2 separate regions of the Homo sapiens genome follow, and region 1 is linked to region 2. Evidence: promoter capture Hi-C in 16 types of primary human blood cells and fetal thymus (Javierre and others, 2016). All regions are on one chromosome and are shown on one strand. The core of a region is centred on a gene start or on the middle of the fragment in contact, and the rest is flanking DNA. Distances in the headings are between cores, read along the strand shown.

The links. Contacts are between HindIII fragments. The CHiCAGO score rates a contact against its expected background, and 5 or more counts as called.
Region 1: a contact is called between a fragment that was not itself captured here and the fragment with the promoter of RALGAPB in region 2, in 1 of 17 cell types (erythroblasts). The highest score is 5.3, in erythroblasts.

Annotation. Positions count from the first base shown.
Region 1 is chr20:37,183,713-37,187,783 of GRCh38, forward strand. RPN2 (ribophorin II) reads left to right here. Exons shown (of 17, transcript NM_002951.5): 2 at 468-661. Among named protein-coding and RNA genes, the nearest start is that of MROH8, 6.2 kb to the left of the region's middle. The HindIII fragment of the contact is 6,975 bases long and covers 1-4,071 here.
Region 2 is chr20:38,471,416-38,475,319 of GRCh38, forward strand. It overlaps RALGAPB (Ral GTPase activating protein non-catalytic subunit beta), which reads left to right and starts at 1,428. Exons shown (of 30, transcript NM_020336.4): 1 at 1,428-1,654. RefSeq lists an enhancer at 1,149-1,218 and a silencer at 1,509-1,708. The HindIII fragment of the contact is 2,916 bases long and covers 1-1,825 here.

The DNA of each region.
Region 1 (4,071 bases), core at 1,251-3,750, 1.3 Mb before region 2:
TGCTTGAGCTGAATTCTGAAAGTAAAAATTAAGCCAAGTTGAGGTAAAAACATGGAAAAATGCTGAGCAGGAAAGAACCTGGCTTCTTAGAGGACAGAGAAGAAGCCAGAGAGCAACAGATAGCGGGAAGCGCGAGGGAGGAGATCTGGTTGAGAGGCTGGCAAGGTGTGAGGATTCAGGATTGGGTTTGTCCTTAGAGGCAGAGGACTTACAGACATCTTTCAGATGGGAATAGTAGGATAAGGCCTGTGCTTTAGATGCTTGGAGGCTGCTGGGAGGACTGTCCTTCCACCAGTTGAAGAGCAGGCTCCCTGCCTTCCCAAGGCTTCTCCTCAGGTTAAACCCCTGGATTCCCTCGCCCTTCCCCATGTGATTTGGTTCCCAGATCTTGGTGTGCATCATCATTGGGACTGTGTATAGCACCTTGGAAGAGTGTAGAGTGTACTGAATGGTTGTTTCCCCCCAAGGTTCAAGCACTGTCTTCCTGTTGGCCCTGACAATCATAGCCAGCACCTGGGCTCTGACGCCCACTCACTACCTCACCAAGCATGACGTGGAGAGACTAAAAGCCTCGCTGGATCGCCCTTTCACAAATTTGGAATCTGCCTTCTACTCCATCGTGGGACTCAGCAGCCTTGGTGCTCAGGTGCCAGATGCAAAGGTAAGGCTGCTTTTGTCCTGGTGGTCAGGGTGGTTCAGGAGAACCTTCATCCCCTCACTATATTCCTTTGGGGTAGTTCAAAACTAACTCTTGCTCATTTGAGGATAACCAAGGTTAATCCAATATAAGAAATATTTGGCCAGGCGTGGTGACTCACGCCTGTAATGCCAGCACTTTGGGAGGTCTAGGCAGGTGGATCACGAGGTCAGGAGTTCGAGACCAGCCTGGCCAGTGCAGTGAAACCCTGACTCTGCTAAAAATAGAAAAAATTAGCTGGGTGTGGTGGTGCATGCCTGTAATCCCAGCTACTCAGGAGGCTGAGGCAGGAGAATCGTGTGAACCCAGGAGGCAGAGGTTGCAGTGAGCTGAGATCCCGCCATTGCACTCCAGCCCAGGCAACAGTGTGAGACTCAGTCTCAAAAAAAGAAGTTTATTTCAGTTTGACAGATCTGTTTTTGTTTTTGTTTTTTTGCCTAATGTATGTTAAGGATCATACCAGATCAGTTATTTTTAGTGGGATGTCAAGAAGAGCAAGCATAGATCATCTAGAAACTTTTACTTCAGCTCTGGGAGTGAGACTGTCCAATAACACATGTACTTACTAAGTGCCCCCCTATGTGTGTGGCTAATAATAAGGGAATTCAAGGTGGAAGGCACTCACATGTATTAAATAATGGTAGTCACTACATCAGGCAATTTTGATACATGTTTTTGGACTTCTGGTGAGGAAAATGCATTATGATTAAAACCTTTCCTGGATTCGGGACAGTCTTTTTTTTTTTTTTTTTGAGACAGAGTCTGGCTCACCCAGGCTAGAGTGCAGTGGCATGATCATGGCTCACTGCAGTCTCTGTCTCCTGGGCTCAAGCCATCCACCTCAGCTTCCCTAGTAGCTGGGACTACAGGTGTGCACCACCATGCCTGGCAATTTTTGTATTTTTTCGTTAGAGATGGGGTTTTGCCATGTTGCCCAGGCTGGTCTTAAACTCCTGGGCTCAAGTGATCCACCTGCCTCAGCCTCCCAAAGTGTTGAGATTACAGGTGTGAGCCACCACCTGACCAGGAACAGTCTTAAAGTGAATTTACATTTTATTCATTATAGTAGTATGGACAACTAGACTAAACAATTTTCCTTTGCCAAGTTTCTCATATCTGCCTTAGTTTTCTTTGACTGAAGAACAAATTACCATAAATGTAGGGGCTTAAAACACCACCGACTTATTGGCTTATATGGCTTATAGTTCTTTATTTTATTTTATTTAAGAGAGGGTCTCACTGTGTTGCCCAGGCTGGAGTGCAGTGGCTATTCACAGGCATGATTATAGCACACTATAACCTCGAACTCCTGGGCTCAAGTGATCCTCCTGTCTCAGCTTCCTGAGTACCTGGGACTATGGGTGCATCCCACCGCACCCCGCTGTTAGCTGATAATCCTGCAGGTCAGAAGTCTAGACAGGCTTGCCTGGGCCCTCTGCTTAGTGTCTCCTGAGGTCAAAGTGAAGGCATTGGCCAAACTGGGCTCCTCCCGGAAGCACTGGAGAAGAATCTGCCTCCAGGCCCATTCATGTTGTCGTATTGTCAGCAAAATCCAGTTCCTGTGGTTGTGGGCCTGAGGTCTCCATTTCCTTGCTAGCTGTCTGCTAGGAGTTGCTCTCTGTTCCTCAAGGCCATTGGTATTTCTTCTCACATGGCCCCTCCACCTTTAAACCAGTAATGGCATGGTGAGTCCTTACTCTTCAATTCTCTCTGACTTCCTCTTCAGCCACCAGCCAGAGAAAACTGCTATTAAAGGGTTCACCTGTTTGGGTCAGCCCACCTGGATAATCTCTGAATTGTAAGGTCAGCTGACTTGGGGCTTTAATTATACCTGCAAAATCACTTTATAACAGTTCCTAAATTTGTGTTTAAATGAATAATCAGTGGATGGAAATCCAGGGGGAGGAGTATGAATGTCTTTAGAATTCTGCCTACCATTTCTTGTATTAGCATGGAAATGACTCCAAATCTGTAGGGACTTTAGGCATACACTACTGCACCTGGCTTGCTGGATGGAGTGTCTTCAAGCAAATATCAGACATATTGTTGTACTTGTATCTCTTATTCTATTTATTTATTTATTTTGTAGAGATGAGGTCTCGCTATGTTGCCTAGGCTGGTGTCATGAACTGACCTCAAGCAATCCTCCTGCCACGGCCTCTCAAAGTGTTGGGATTACAGGCATGAGCCATTGTGCCTGACCAACAGTAATTCTTTAATGTCATTTAATTCTCAGTCTATGTTCAGTTATCTTGAGTTATCTCAAAAGTGTTTTTTACAGTTAGTTGGCTTAAATCAGGATCTAAAGAAGGTCTACACATTCCATTTTTTGCTGGTATCTCTTAAGACTCTTTTCACCGATAATAGTTCCCATTCCCTCTTTTCTCCCCATACCATTTATTTGTGGAATAAGTCAGGTCATTTGTCCTGGAATATTTTCCACATTCTGCCTTTGATTAATTGTATCTTCATGATGTTTTTGAACATATTTCCCTATCCTTTGTATCCCTGTAAACTGATAGTTAGCTCTTGAGGCTAAATTATATTCAGGGTTGGTTTTCTTGGTGAAAATATTTCACAGGTGGTGCTGTGGACTTCCTATTAATAGATACATAATATCTGGTTATTTCACTTTTAGTGATGATGAAGTTGTAAATTAAGGTGTTGTCAGACTAATCTATCGCTTATAAATAGTATATAGTAGGGATTTGTTTTTTCATCCAGTCTGATAATTTCTACCTTTTGATTGGGGAGTTTATTCCATTTATTTTTTTATTTTGATTCTTTTTTTATGTTTAAGATCAATCATTTGGCGGGGCGCGGTGGCTCAAGCCTGTAATCCCAGCACTTTGGGAGGCCGAGGCGGGCGGATCACGAGGTCAGGAGATCGAGACCATCCCGGCTAAAACGGTGAAACACCGTCTCTACTAAAAATACAAAAAATTAGCCGGGCGTAGTGGCGGGCGCCTGTAGTCCCAGCTACTTGGGAGGCTGAGGCAGGAGAATGGCGTGAACCCGGGAGGCGGAGCTTGCAGTGAGCCGAGATCCCGCCACTGCACTCCAGCCTGGGCGACAGAGCGAGACTCCGTCTCAAAAAAAAAAAAAAAAAAAGATCAATCATTTATGTTTAATTATATTGTTGGGTTTACATCTGTCATCTTGTTATTTGTTTCCTATTGGCTTACCTGTTTTTCCCTCTCTTTTCCTGTCTTATTTTTATATTTTATTTTGTTTTATTTTATTTTTTTGAGACAGGGTCTCACTCTTGTCACCCAGGCTGGAGTGCAGTGGTGTGATCTCTGCTCACTGTGACCTCTGCCTCCCGGGTTCAAGTGATCCTCCCATCTCAGCCTCCTAAGTAGCTGGGATTACAG
Region 2 (3,904 bases), core at 178-2,677:
CAAACAGGCTCCTGTCTTTCTGCTCCACCTTCCTCAGCACAGCCCTCCTCATGGCCTCTAGGCTGCTGTGCTCCCAGGTGTTACCCAGTTCCAAGCATGAAGCAGGGGAAAAGTGAAGGACACAAACTTCTCCAAGGGAAGAAGGAAGGGAAGGTCTCCTTTGATACTTCTGCCTACATCTCAGTGGCCAGGACTTTGTCTCACTGCCACCCTTAGCAGCAAAGAAAGTTGAGAGTTGTGTGCTTTGCTTTTCAGCCCCTGTAGTATAGAAAGGCAAGGGAGTGGTTGAAATAGATCTTGAGTTAGCCAACTACATAATTTGTCACACTGTGTTTAATTGAAATGTATTGCTTGGATCCAGTGTCCTGGACATAGCCTCGTTCCTGTCCTAGCACATTCTTACCCTCCTTTTCCCTCTTCCTTCCTGTAGCTATTTTTCTGGGGGGTGAGGTGTGGTCTTGAGGAAACACTCTTCAGTTTTACCCTTTCTGTGAGGATACTAGTTCCCTTATCACTCATTCCTCCATAGTCTCTTCTAACTGAGGTGAGGAGTCAGAATCTTCTTTGCTCCCTTCTGCTTTTCAGACAACCGTGCCTTCACCTCTACTCAACACCCTGACCCCTCCTCCCTCTCTCAATACCCAAGGTCAGTCTCAAGGCCAGGTCCTCCGTGAAGAATTCCACCATCCCTCCCTCCTCTTCTTTCTCAGTCCAAGTTTCCTCCTTTAGATTCTCAAAGCACTTAAGCTGTACCTCTCCAATGGTATTATTTTCTTCGTTGAAGTGAAAGCAAATTATTGAAAGTGGTACTGTTTACAAAATGTCTAGCGCATGGCAGGTGCTCGAAGTAGTATCTCTTAGTATTATTACTACTGTCTTATCTCGATCAGATTCAGCTCTTTAATGAGAGGCTCTAAATCTTATGTTCGATTCACCTTTGTAACCCACACCGGGCCTGGAATAGAGCACTGTTCATAATTAATGCTGTGCCCGTGTAATAAGACGGCGGCGAGCAAAGGGCATCATTTCAGAGGAAGAGTGCTGTAATGGTGGGATGGGAGAAATTCCTAGAACCTAGGTGGGAGCCAGAATCTTGCAGAGAAGCCCCTTATCCGTCTGCACCGAAAGCAGGTAGAGTGGATGCCGTAAGATTCCTAAGGACGCAGGTAGAGCGCCTCCTCTGTGCCGCGATGAGGTAGGTGCATCCGTCACTTCACTCCTCCCTCTCCACTTGATCCGGAATGGGAGGAACGCAATGCGTCCCGCGCGGCGATCTGGGATAGCTGCGCAGGCGCAGCTTCCGGCTCTGTGTCTCGGGAATTATTTGACGCCACCGGTTCAGCCCCGTAGAAAGCTCTGATTAGGCGCACCGCGCACGCGCAGTGGCCCACTTGGCTGGGGAGTTATTTGACGCCGCCGCCCCTGGCAGTCGGAAGTTGCCTGAGCAGATCCCAGCCGGCTGGCTCGAGTGGCCTTCGTCGTCCCTTGGCGCCCTGGGAGAGTCGCTGACGGGTGGACTGACGGACCGCCTGAGGACGGCCGGCCAGGGCGGTGAAAGCGCCAGCCCTATGGCGCGGGTCGCGTGAGGCGGAAGGCCGAGGACGGCCGGCGGCGGCGCCCGCCCCGGCGATGCGGGCCCCGCCCGTCGCCTCAGGTAACCGGGCAGCCGGCCCCGCCGCGGCCGGACCCTCCCCTCTCCTTCCCTCTCTTCCCCACCTGGCGGTCAAGGGACGGCTGAGGCTTGTTTCTCGGCTCTGGGTGCTCCAGGGGCCCGGCCTTTGGAAGCTCATCTGCAAATTTTTGGGAGACCCACGGGGGCGGGGAAAGCTTGGCCCTGGAGTGGGCGGCTGCTGTCGAGTCTGTGTAAACCCGGTCTAATCCTTGGGAGCTACCCCGGCCAGGCGAAGCTCTCTCCTGGCAACCTGGGGGAGGGGGCGGGTCTGGAGCGGAGCTAGACAACTCCCGCAAAGAATTTGGTCCAGCAGAAAGGTTAGGCAAGTTGCTGCCGCCCAGTGGGGACGATGCTGCCCATTGCACAGTGACACTTTGATGAGGGAGAGTTGATGATGGGAGTAAACAGCTAACCCCCATTAAGCGCTTCTTATCCGCCAGGCATCATGCCAGGCCATTACGTTCTCCACGTCTAACTTCACAGCAACCCTGTGAGGTAGGATTGTTGTCCCCATTTTACTGACGAGGCAACTGAGTCCCTGGGTGGTTGGGTGACTTAATTACCCAAGGTCACATAGCTAGTAATTTGAACCGGAGCATCCGACCCAAGTGCTTAACAATTAGGGCAGTGGCTCTCCAACTTTGCTACACTGTAGAATCACCTGGGGGAAATTGTAAAGGTTTCTGATGCCCATGTGGCATCCCAGACCAAAACAATCAGAATGTCTGGAGTTGAAAGCCAGACTTCAATATTTTTTTTTTAAAGATGCCCAAGTGATTCCAGCTTGCAGCAAAGTTTGGGAACCGCATGTAATTTGATAATTCTGCATCTCAAAAAGCATCTCTCTTTCTCCAGCTTAAGTGTGCAGGAGAATTGTCTGGGAGCTTGTTAAACTTGCAGGTTCCACCCGCAGAGATCTTTAGGTTGACTGACCACTACACCTTGTGAAAGACTGTTAGGGATGGAATTCTCTGCAGGGATTCTGAGTCATCTGGAACATTTAAAATGTATGCATCTTATGCAAACTGCTCGTTTGCAATTTTCCTAAATATACAGTACTTATAGGTGTAGCGTCTGTAACCTCTGGGTCGTTTTTACATATGCTGGAAGTCTGCCTAGACCATCCTCTGAACGTTCTGGCCATCCCACCCAAACGCACACACTTCTGCTCTCTCCTATATGCATATACACACCCTTTTCTTTTCTTTCTTTCTTTTTTTTAGACAGAGTCTTGCTCTGTTGCCCAGGCTGGAATGCAGTGGCATGATCTTGGCTCACTGCAACTTCCGCCTCCTGAGCTCAAGCAGTCCTCCCACCTCAGCCTCTCAAGTAGCTGGGACTACCACGCTTGGCTAATTTTTGAATTTTTTTTGTAGAGATGGGGTTTCTCCATGTTGCCCAGGCTGGTCTCAAACTCCTGGGCTGAAGCAGTCCACCCACTATGGTCTGCCATAGTGGTGGGATTACAGATGCGAGCCACTGTGCCAGGCCTACATACCCTTTTCTTCCTGTCTCTGGCTGCATTAGCTTTAAGCATTCCCTTCAAGATACCTCTGTCCCTGACCCCTACCCACCTTGAGTCCTTCCAATTTGCTCTTTAGGAACATCGTAGTGAAACTTATCAGTTATTTTTCTGAGTTGTAGTTCTATCCCTACTTCTAGATTATGAGAAGCTTTAGGGCAGGGACTATGTTTTCTTCATCTCTGTATTCCTTCCAGTGCTTTGACATACAGACTCACAAAGCTTTTACTCAGTGGAATGTTTGGGTCCTTTTATGTCATAGATAGATCATGTTGCGAACAGATTCTTCTCTATTTCCATTTTTGTAAAAGATGTTTGGTAGTTCCCAGCTTATAGAGTTTTGTTCTTTTTGCTTAGGAGTGAGTATTCTAGTTATGTTCAGCAATTTGTCCAGCAGTTGAACACACACATTGAGTTCTTACCAATTGCAAGGCACTCTGTAACTAACCATGTGCAATCAACATTGTTTGATTTTTAATGTCTGATTCTATCACAATCGGACGCAATCATGTCTGTAGGGAAAGTCTTTTTATTACTGTTAGACCTTTGCATGTGTTCCCTACTTCATTGTCCAAAAAAGTGTTTAGTTGTCATCCACTAAATGCCACTGCCTTGTTGGTATTTGGTAAATACAAGCAGATGGGATTGCCATTGGTAATGTTTGGTCCTGTTCACCAGGAGAGAGGACGTTAAGTACTTAATGAAGAGTA